2 separate regions of the Homo sapiens genome follow, and region 2 is linked to region 1. Evidence: promoter capture Hi-C in human tissues and cell types (Jung and others, 2019). All regions are on one chromosome and are shown on one strand. The core of a region is centred on a gene start or on the middle of the fragment in contact, and the rest is flanking DNA. Distances in the headings are between cores, read along the strand shown. Region 1 holds the start of VSIG2 (V-set and immunoglobulin domain containing 2). Region 2 holds the start of HYLS1 (HYLS1 centriolar and ciliogenesis associated).

Region 1 (4,916 bases), core at 1,817-4,316:
GTGCTGTACCCATTAACTCTTCATTTAGCATTAGCTATATCTCCTAATGCTATCCCTCCCCCCTAAACATTCACTGTTATAATGATTAGTCCATATAGTCCTTTCAACACCCTCAGGGAGGTCATATTGTCCCCATTTTACAGATGAAGAAATGGAGACCCTCAGATATCAACTAACTTGCTTAAAGTCAGTCACATGGCCTGTTCTGGAACCCACGTTTACCAGTTCCTACCCCAGTGTTCTTTCTCTCTCATCACACTGTCTTGCCGAAATAAAAGTAAAATGGTGTTTTGGTTTCTCTGTGCTTCACTTTCTCTGTGGCCTCCTGTCGGATATCCACTGGGGGCACTGACTGAGGAGTGACAATGGAGGTTATTGCACTAGTCAGTCTGCAGCTGGGAGCCAAGCCCAGCTGTCACACCTCTCCCCCCATCAGGGAATAGACAAGCCGTGACTCCCAGAGGGTCAAAGGGGACATTCCAGAGGAGGGACAAGATTTTTTTTTTTTTTTAATGGGAAAGAGGGTCCCTGGACTGATGGCTAAATTGTGTCCACAGATGTCATCCGTGGGTCTTTAAGCCTCACCAACCTTTCGTCTTCCATGGCTGGAGTCTATGTCTGCAAGGCCCACAATGAGGTGGGCACTGCCCAATGTAATGTGACGCTGGAAGTGAGCACAGGTCAGTGAGGGGTAAGTGTGGTTAAGAAGAGTGGTCAATGGTGGGGGAGGGGTTGCAAGTGGGGAGGAGGCCTGTCTGCTGAGGCCTGTCTCTGTAGCAGGGCACGGAGCTTCCCCTGATCAAATGTTTGTACAAATGGTTGGTCAGTGACTGGTCATTTCCTGCTCAACAGCCACCCCTCTTCTTGACAGGGAAAAAGAGGGAATGTGTATGGTGGCAGATGGGGTGGGGAGAGTGGGATTGGAGAGGGGTGAGAACCCCTCAGCTGGGTGTCCTCCTCTGACACGACGCCTTTTCCAGGGCCTGGAGCTGCAGTGGTTGCTGGAGCTGTTGTGGGTACCCTGGTTGGACTGGGGTTGCTGGCTGGGCTGGTCCTCTTGTACCACCGCCGGGGCAAGGCCCTGGAGGAGCCAGCCAATGATATCAAGTAAGTGTCCCTGGTGTCTGCTGCAGCGGGGGCTCTCCCAGCTCTCCTCACAGAGGCTGGGAATTCAGGCAGCTCTCATCTATTGGGATGGGGTCAGTGGCTGAAACATCATTCCTATGGGCAGGTTTTAAGGGAGAGGGAAAGGAGTACTGAAGTGTGCAGGCAGAGGTGGTATATAAGACCAAGCAGGTAGAAACTCTCTCCTCCTTCCCCCACCCACTTCTGACCTCTTGTTATTTCTTTGATGACTAGGGAGGATGCCATTGCTCCCCGGACCCTGCCCTGGCCCAAGAGCTCAGACACAATCTCCAAGAATGGGACCCTTTCCTCTGTCACCTCCGCACGAGCCCTCCGGCCACCCCATGGCCCTCCCAGGCCTGGTGCATTGACCCCCACGCCCAGTCTCTCCAGCCAGGCCCTGCCCTCACCAAGACTGCCCACGACAGATGGGGCCCACCCTCAACCAATATCCCCCATCCCTGGTGGGGTTTCTTCCTCTGGCTTGAGCCGCATGGGTGCTGTGCCTGTGATGGTGCCTGCCCAGAGTCAAGCTGGCTCTCTGGTATGATGACCCCACCACTCATTGGCTAAAGGATTTGGGGTCTCTCCTTCCTATAAGGGTCACCTCTAGCACAGAGGCCTGAGTCATGGGAAAGAGTCACACTCCTGACCCTTAGTACTCTGCCCCCACCTCTCTTTACTGTGGGAAAACCATCTCAGTAAGACCTAAGTGTCCAGGAGACAGAAGGAGAAGAGGAAGTGGATCTGGAATTGGGAGGAGCCTCCACCCACCCCTGACTCCTCCTTATGAAGCCAGCTGCTGAAATTAGCTACTCACCAAGAGTGAGGGGCAGAGACTTCCAGTCACTGAGTCTCCCAGGCCCCCTTGATCTGTACCCCACCCCTATCTAACACCACCCTTGGCTCCCACTCCAGCTCCCTGTATTGATATAACCTGTCAGGCTGGCTTGGTTAGGTTTTACTGGGGCAGAGGATAGGGAATCTCTTATTAAAACTAACATGAAATATGTGTTGTTTTCATTTGCAAATTTAAATAAAGATACATAATGTTTGTATGAGATAAGAAACAAGTTGCCTTTTCAAACTAAGAATTCTTGAAATTGAGCTTCAGGAGGATGCAAAGTGGACCCCTTCCCAAGCTGTGTACCCAGGAGGGCTTCCCCCCACAGGCTTAGAGCAGCTCTTCTAGTGTTTAGAAGGGTCCTTGTTTGTCACGTGGAGAAGGGGAGGAGACTCTAAGCTACTCTGAACAGCAGAGGGATGGAGTTGATACGCTTTCTGCTGGAGCTTGAGTGCTCCCGGCTAGGGGGTACGTGTACCTCATCTGCTTCCTCTTCAGGGACAGGGGAGAGGAAGCTCACGTGGGCTCCTCTCCCACACCACGGAATCCTTAACAAAACACTCCTTGCCCATCTGGAAGAGATCTCTGTTGTTACTGAGGGAGAGCTGGGCATAGTATGAGGTGCAGGTCTGTGTCCAAGTTCTGCCATGTTCTTTCCTACCAAGGGTGAGGTCTCCTTTAGGTCTCAGTTTCTCTGCCCCTAAAATGGAGTGGCTCTGGAAATGGAGAGATGCTCATTTCTACAGAGACTCCTACCTCAGTAAGTGGTGAAATGAAAAGCGCTGTGGACAGGAAGGGTCTGCGGCCTGGGGCTCACACTCACAGTGAGGCTCCGAGGTGGGGACTCCCCTTGCCAGCTCTGGGGTATCAGGACGCCTTCCAAAGTCAGCTTTCCTTCCGTCTCTGCAGAAGGCCCACCCCAAGCCCAGCGCTTTTCCCAAGGCCGGACAGCTTCAGACCTTGGGGAGAAGAGGAAGGAAGGAGGAAGAAGGGACAGAGGGATTGCAGAATCGGGGCTGGAGGAGAGGAGGGAGGAGCACTTTTTTTTTTTTTTAACCTGCGGCGCCGGCCTCTCCCCTGTTTGCTCTGAGATACCAGTCTCGCTCCTGCCCAGCCCGGGCGGCTGCCCTTGGGTGCTCCCTTCCCTGCCCGACACCCAGACCGACCTTGACCGCCCACCTGGCAGGAGCAGGACAGGACGGCCGGACGCGGCCATGGCCGAGCTCCCGGGGCCCTTTCTCTGCGGGGCCCTGCTAGGCTTCCTGTGCCTGAGTGGTGAGGAGGGGCCGGGCGGGACCACGGCGAGGGCTGGGGGGCATAGGCCTGGCTTCCCCGGCTCCTCGGACCCACTCTGTCCCCGCCAGGCCAGATGAGGCTGCCGTGGGCGCCAGGGGCCCTAAGGCGCCTGAGGTGAGGCCGGAGAGGGGGTGTCCAAGGCCCGGAGGGCGTAGGAGAGAGACCCCCAAGCCGGCGAGCGAGTTGGGCCTCTCCGCGGCACAGGCCTGAACCACCCCACCGCAGGGCTAGTGTTTTCCTTTCTCTGCTAAACACACACACCCTCTTACCTGGCCCGGTTCCGGCTCTTTTACCCACAAAGACCCGGCCCCTCCCGGAAACCTCAGGTTTTGGGAAGGGAGGGGTTGGATTGAGGGGAGAGGGTTGTGCTCTGGGGAGGGAGCCCCCAGCTTCCAATATAGATGCCCGGGGGTGGGCCCGACCCTCCAGATCACTGGAATTTGGGTTCCCACCTCCCTCTGGTCCCCGGCCCCAGGGCTGGCCGTGGAGGTGAAGGTACCCACAGAGCCGCTGAGCACGCCCCTGGGGAAGACAGCCGAGCTGACCTGCACCTACAGCACGTCGGTGGGAGACAGCTTCGCCCTGGAGTGGAGCTTTGTGCAGCCTGGGAAACCCATCTCTGAGTCCCATCCAGTGAGCTGAGAGCGACTGCATGAAGCTGGGTTGGCCTGGAGGGACAGGAGCCCAGGATGAGGGCATGGGGTCGGGAGGGGGAGTTTGGGGATCAGTATGCTTGGATGAAAAGGTAAGTGGGCTCTCCCTAGATCTTTTCAGAGCTGCAGTCTGCCTGACCGTGTATCTTCCTTTCCTCTTCCATAGCTCCTATTTCCAACTCCCCTGCCTTAGTGTATCCATTGACACTAAGGTGTTGTGACTGATACCAAGATAATATGCTGCCTCTTCTGCCTCTCTCTTTGAGAGAGAGAGAGAGAGACCAATGGATCAGGTTCATTTAGCACCTGAAAGGGGGTGGTGTTTGGGGACAGAGAGACCTTTGGAGTTCCAGCTTAAGGGTATCAGCCTCCCTGGCTGATGTAAGTCAGAGGCCTCTTATACCCACTTTGATGAGGAAGGACTGTAGAGTTGATGCCAGGCAGAAACAGGCACATATGTGTGTCTTCTGCCTCTCCCCAGATCCTGTACTTCACCAATGGCCATCTGTATCCAACTGGTTCTAAGTCAAAGCGGGTCAGCCTGCTTCAGAACCCCCCCACAGTGGGGGTGGCCACACTGAAACTGACTGACGTCCACCCCTCAGATACTGGAACCTACCTCTGCCAAGTCAACAACCCACCAGATTTCTACACCAATGGGTTGGGGCTAATCAACCTTACTGTGCTGGGTAAGGCAGACTGGGGATCCACGAGCCACATACTCTTTCACATACTTGGGGCGTTTGCACTGGTCTTGCTAAATCTCTGGTTTCTGACTTTTAGCCCAAGCACACAACTGCACTGGGGGCCCCAAGTGAAAATACTCCCTTTCCAAGTCTTCTAATTCAGATGGTCATACTCCAACTCCACCCTCCACCGAGAGCATCTCCTCCATCAGAGCCTAATAACAGAGTGTGTGAGAGAAAGTCCTTCCCATACATGGGGATCTGAGCCTGCTCCCAGCAGCTCCATCATGGGGGAGGCTCTCATCGGTAGTT
Region 2 (4,741 bases), core at 713-3,212, 1.1 Mb before region 1:
GAGTAGCTGGGATCACAGGCACCTGCCACCACGCCCGGCTAATTTTTCTTCTATTTTTAGTAGAGACTTGGTTTCACCATGTTGGCCAGGCTGGTTTCAAACTCCCAATCTCAAGTGATCCGCCCGCCTCCGCCTCCCAAAGTGCTTGGGATTACAGGTGTGAGCCACCGCGCCCGGCCCAGTTTGGCATTTTGAATCAGAATTTAAACTGTACCACAACTTCTAAGTCATAATCCACTTCCAGGAATTTATTCCAAGGACATAAATTGGACAAGAATGCAAACATGTATACATACAAGTGACCACTACCATACCATTTTATGATTATGAAGAGACTGGAAACAAATGTACATTAGTAGGGGACTGGTTAAATAATATATGATACAATACAGCCATAGCAACAAACGCCACGCATCCATTAAAAATGGTAATGCGTATCGACACTGACAGAGAAATGTGTTCCCAATTTATTACTGACTCAATAATGTATAATCTGCTTAACTGACGTTCTTTTAAATTAACATACTTTATTATATTTGTAACATGCAATTATTTAAAACACATTTTATAAGGAAATCACATAAATATAAGGTATATATTATGAATATATCTGAAGTAAACCTAAATGTGAACAGTGTTTGATGGTTATCTGTGACTGATGAAATTTCGAGTATTTTCTTTCTTCTTTACACGTACTAAATGTTGCTCGGATTGCTAAAAACATGTACATACTATGTTTGCATTCTTGTCCGATTTATGTCCTTGGAATAAACTCCTGGAATTGGATTATGACTTAGAAGTTATGGTACTACTTGAATTCTGATTTATGTTTTTCTTTTCTCTTTTTTTTTTTTTTTTTTGAGACAAGAGTCTTGCTCGGTCGCCCAGGCTGGAGTGCAGTGGCGCGATCTCGGCTCACTGCAACCTCTCCCTCCCGGGTTCAAGAGATTCTCCTGTCTCGGCCTCCCGAGGAGCTGGGACTACAGGCGCCCGCCACCAAGCCCGGCCAATTTTTGTATTTTTAGTAGAGACGGGGTTTCACCGTATTGGTCGGGCTGGTCTCGAACTCCTGACCTCACGTGATCCGCCCACCTCGGCCTCCCAAAGTGCTGGGGTAACAGGCGTGAGCCACCGCGCCCGGCCTGAATTCTGATTTATAATGCCAAACTGCCCTCTAGAAAAACAGATTATCCCCAGCACACAGGCCATAAAGGTGCTTGCTTTCATTTCTTCACTCTCTCAGCAGCATGGGGTACTGAAAAATCTTACCAATCTAAAAAGATATCTTAATGTTTTTCTTTGCCTGCTTAGTGAGATTGTATACTGTTTAGAATAAAAAAGATTTATTTCCATTTCGGGGTGGACAAACACCTTGGACGGTTCCATGCTGCAGTCCACAAAAGGTGCAGCTAGAAGGCGACAAGACACGCTCCGCCTTTCAACGGCAAAGCTCGCAGTCGCCCCGCCTGGCCGTGGGCGTGGCTTGGACCCAGGTCGCTAGCGGCCTTCGGGACTCCCCTCCAGCCCTGGGGCCGTCCCCGGCCTCCGCCTGGTCCCAGGGGCGCGGCCCAGGAGCTCAGAAAGGCCACCGGGGCAAAGACCGCGGCGGCGGCCAGCGCACACCGTGACCTCCAGGGGCTGCGGCCCGCCGCGCACATCGCCTGTAGCTCACGCTGCCCCGGCCGCCTCCCTCAGGAACGCAGACGTTGGGGACGGCTCGCCAGGCAGGACCTGGAATCCACGGAGGGAAGCTGCCACTCTGCACCGTCCCGACGGTGGGAAAAGGAGCGAGGGCTCCCGCCGCAGTGGGCCGGCAGCCACCAGGTCCCCGCGTCCCTCCGCTTCCGGCCTTCGCCCGGCTTACCCGCGTCGCGGAAGTCCGCTCTCTGCACCGCGTCCTGCCAGTCGCCAGCAGAGCACCGCAGATTCTGTTAGCTTTCGCGTAACTTGCGCAGGCGCACTGCCGGCCCACGCGCCGAGCCTGCGGTTAACCGCCGACCGCTGAGGTTTAAATCCGGAGAGCGAACCGGCACCCTTGGCCCGGTCCGCCCTCCCTCTTATTGGTCCTGAGGGTAAACGTCCTCCAAGTCTGTATCCTGATTGGCGCACATTTTGTCTGGGCCTTCTCCGCCGGCGGGAGCATGCCCGGGATTTCCAATGTGGCCTTAAAAATATCCGAGCCCGCCTAGCTGAGGCGCGCAGGCAGCAGCCGTTGCTGCGACGCCTCTGGTGTACTAAATCTGGAGGGGAGGTTGGGCCCTCGAAGAGAAGGAGAAGACCCTCAAACCTTGGCTAACGGCGACATAGCTGGCTTTTTGGAGAGGCCGCCTAACGGTCTGCCACTTCATTGGAATCAGCCTCCGCCCTTCTCAACTGGCTGCTGCGGGGCCAGTGGTGCCGGGAGACGAGGGCGGGCGCTCAGGGACGGTTCGAACAGTCTGGGGTGAGTCCGCCTGTGCGCTCTAGACGTTTCCTTGGGGCCTGAGAGAGCGGCTGTATGAAACCCTGGCGCACTGAGCTCTTCCTTTCCTCTGCATGGTGTGCAGGGCCCTGGCGTGACCCGTGGCTGCGTCTCCACAGCTCCTCCCACGTTACTCTAACTGTGCTCCAGCCACCGACTGCCTTGCTCCGACATGCACTTGTTTTCTTTTGGAATGTGCCTGTCTCCTTCACATGGTGTTACTCTCAACTTTTTTTTTTTTTTTTTTTTGAGACGGAGTTTCCCTCTTGTTGCCCAGTTGCCCAGGCTGGAGAGTAGTGGCGCGATCTCAGCTCTCTGTAACCTCTGCCTCCCAGGTTCAAGCGATTCTCCTGCCTCAGCCTCCCGAGCAGCTGGGATTACGGGCGAGCACCACCATGCCCGGCTAATTTTGTATTTTTAGTAGAGATGGGGTTTCACCATGTTAGTCAGGTGATTCTACCCCCTCGGCCTCCCAAAGCTCTGGGATTACAGTTGTGAGCCTCTGTGCCCAGCCACTAATTTTTTTTTTAAACCCGATGTTTTAACTCTTTTTGCATCTGTACCTGTAAAAAAAAAAAAAAAAAAAAAAAAAAAAATCTAGTGCTTGGGGATTGCTGAGGATGAGATCTGTAAAAGCAAGAGGAGAGGCCCTCAGGGTTCAATATCCTAGTCAATACCAAGCAAACCTATCTCAACTGGTCTTGAGTCCTGAGCATTGCATTTTCCACCTTAAACAAATAGGTGCTAGTTGTCAAGTTCATCTTACACCATTTCTTAAATCCAGGATTCAGTGGGAGGGGAGAAATGTTTAATCCTTTTCCTCCAAACACTTCGTATTATCTCTTACTCTCCCTCTTTGCCTCAGGGCCTTTGTGCTACCTCTAAGGCACTTTGAATTTGTGGGAGGAAGAAAATGGAAAGAACAAAGGAGGGAAGATGACAGAAGTAGGTTGTGGAGATTTGAGTGACTGCCCCTACATCTGCAATATCATAACACTCCTTTAGTGCAGCGGTCCCAACCTTTTTGGCACTAGAGACAGGTTTCATGGAAGACAATTTTTCCATGGCTCAGAGAGGGGGTATGGTTTTGGGATGATTCAAGCGCATTACATTTATTGTGCACTTTATTTCTATTATTATATTGTAACATATAATGAAATAATTATGCAACTCACTGTAATGTAGAATCAGTGGGAGCCCTGAGCTTGTTTTTCTGCAACTAGATGGTCCCATCTGGGGGTGATGGGAGACAGTGACAGATCATCAGGCATTAGATTCTCATAAGGAGCATGCAACCTAGATCCCTGGCTTGCGCAGTTCACAATAGGGTTCACGCTCTTGTGAGACTCTAACACCCCTGTTCATGCGACGGAAGGCAGAGCTCAGGCAGTAATGCCAGATGGGGAGTGGCTGTAGAAACAGATGAAGCTCCTACGGCTTACCCCCTGCCTTGCGGCCTGGTTCCTAGGTGCCTGTCCGTGGCCTGGGGGTTGGGGACCTTTGTTTTAGTGCATATATTCTTTTCTTTCCATAGGAGCAAATTTAATATGCTCAGGTTTTATCTTATGCCAGCATGACTTTTTCTTTGGCTTTGAATCTCCAATCTGTCTTAGAAACCAAAGAGTAGATGGAATCATTTTTCTTCCAGCTTTGAACATCAGCATTCTCCTTATGGATCCCCCAGTTCGTTTCTTTTTCTTTTTTTTTTAATTTTTTTTGAGACAGAGTCTCTCTCTGTAGCCCAGGCTGGGGTGCAGTGGCACGATCTTGGCTCACTGCAACCTCCACCTCCCAGGTTCAAATGATTTTCATGCCTCAGTCTCCTGAGTAGCTGGGACTACAGGCGTGTGCCACCACACCCAGCTAATTTTTGTATTTTTAGTAGAGACAGGGTTTCATCATATTGGCCAGGCTAGTCTTGAACTCTGACCTCAAGCGATCCGCCAGCCTCCACCTCCCAAAGTGCTGGGATTTCCAGCGTGAGCCACTGTGTGCAGCCCCAATTAGTTTCTGTTATCCTTTTTATTAAATTTTGATCTTTGAAAACGTTTAATACATAGCAGCTTGAAGGATCTACTCCTGAATATTTCATATTGCAAGTGGTATCTTGTGTTCTACCCAACCCTGGTTTTTTTGTGGATTGCTTAGTCCTCCAATTTTTCTTAGATCTGATTTAATAATGCTTGTGGTTCCCAGAAATCTACTGAACCCCGGTCAAACCTTAAACAAGAAACTTTAACCATGACCACTTAAAATACAGTATATAGAGAAAAATCCTAC

What was found. Contacts are between HindIII fragments. The study calls those that stand out against the background at their distance.
Region 2: a contact is called between the fragment with the promoter of HYLS1 here and the fragment with the promoter of VSIG2 in region 1, in 1 of the 25 tissues and cell types used here (small bowel).

The regions. Positions count from the first base shown.
Region 1 is chr11:124,750,405-124,755,320 of GRCh38, reverse strand. VSIG2 (V-set and immunoglobulin domain containing 2) reads left to right here and starts at 3,066. Exons shown (of 7, transcript NM_014312.5): 1 at 3,066-3,244; 2 at 3,741-3,898; 3 at 4,400-4,607. The coding sequence starts at 3,184. It overlaps ESAM (endothelial cell adhesion molecule), which reads left to right. Exons shown (of 7, transcript NM_138961.3): 5 at 558-680; 6 at 981-1,107; 7 at 1,360-2,195. The coding sequence ends at 1,675. RefSeq lists enhancers at 654-948, 3,307-3,868. The HindIII fragment of the contact is 14,367 bases long and covers 473-4,916 here.
Region 2 is chr11:125,884,889-125,889,629 of GRCh38, reverse strand. It overlaps HYLS1 (HYLS1 centriolar and ciliogenesis associated), which reads right to left and starts at 1,962. Exons shown (of 3, transcript NM_001134793.2): 1 at 1,865-1,962. RefSeq lists silencers at 1,385-1,774, 1,875-1,924, 2,015-2,064 and an enhancer at 2,205-2,254. The HindIII fragment of the contact is 15,201 bases long and covers 1-4,741 here.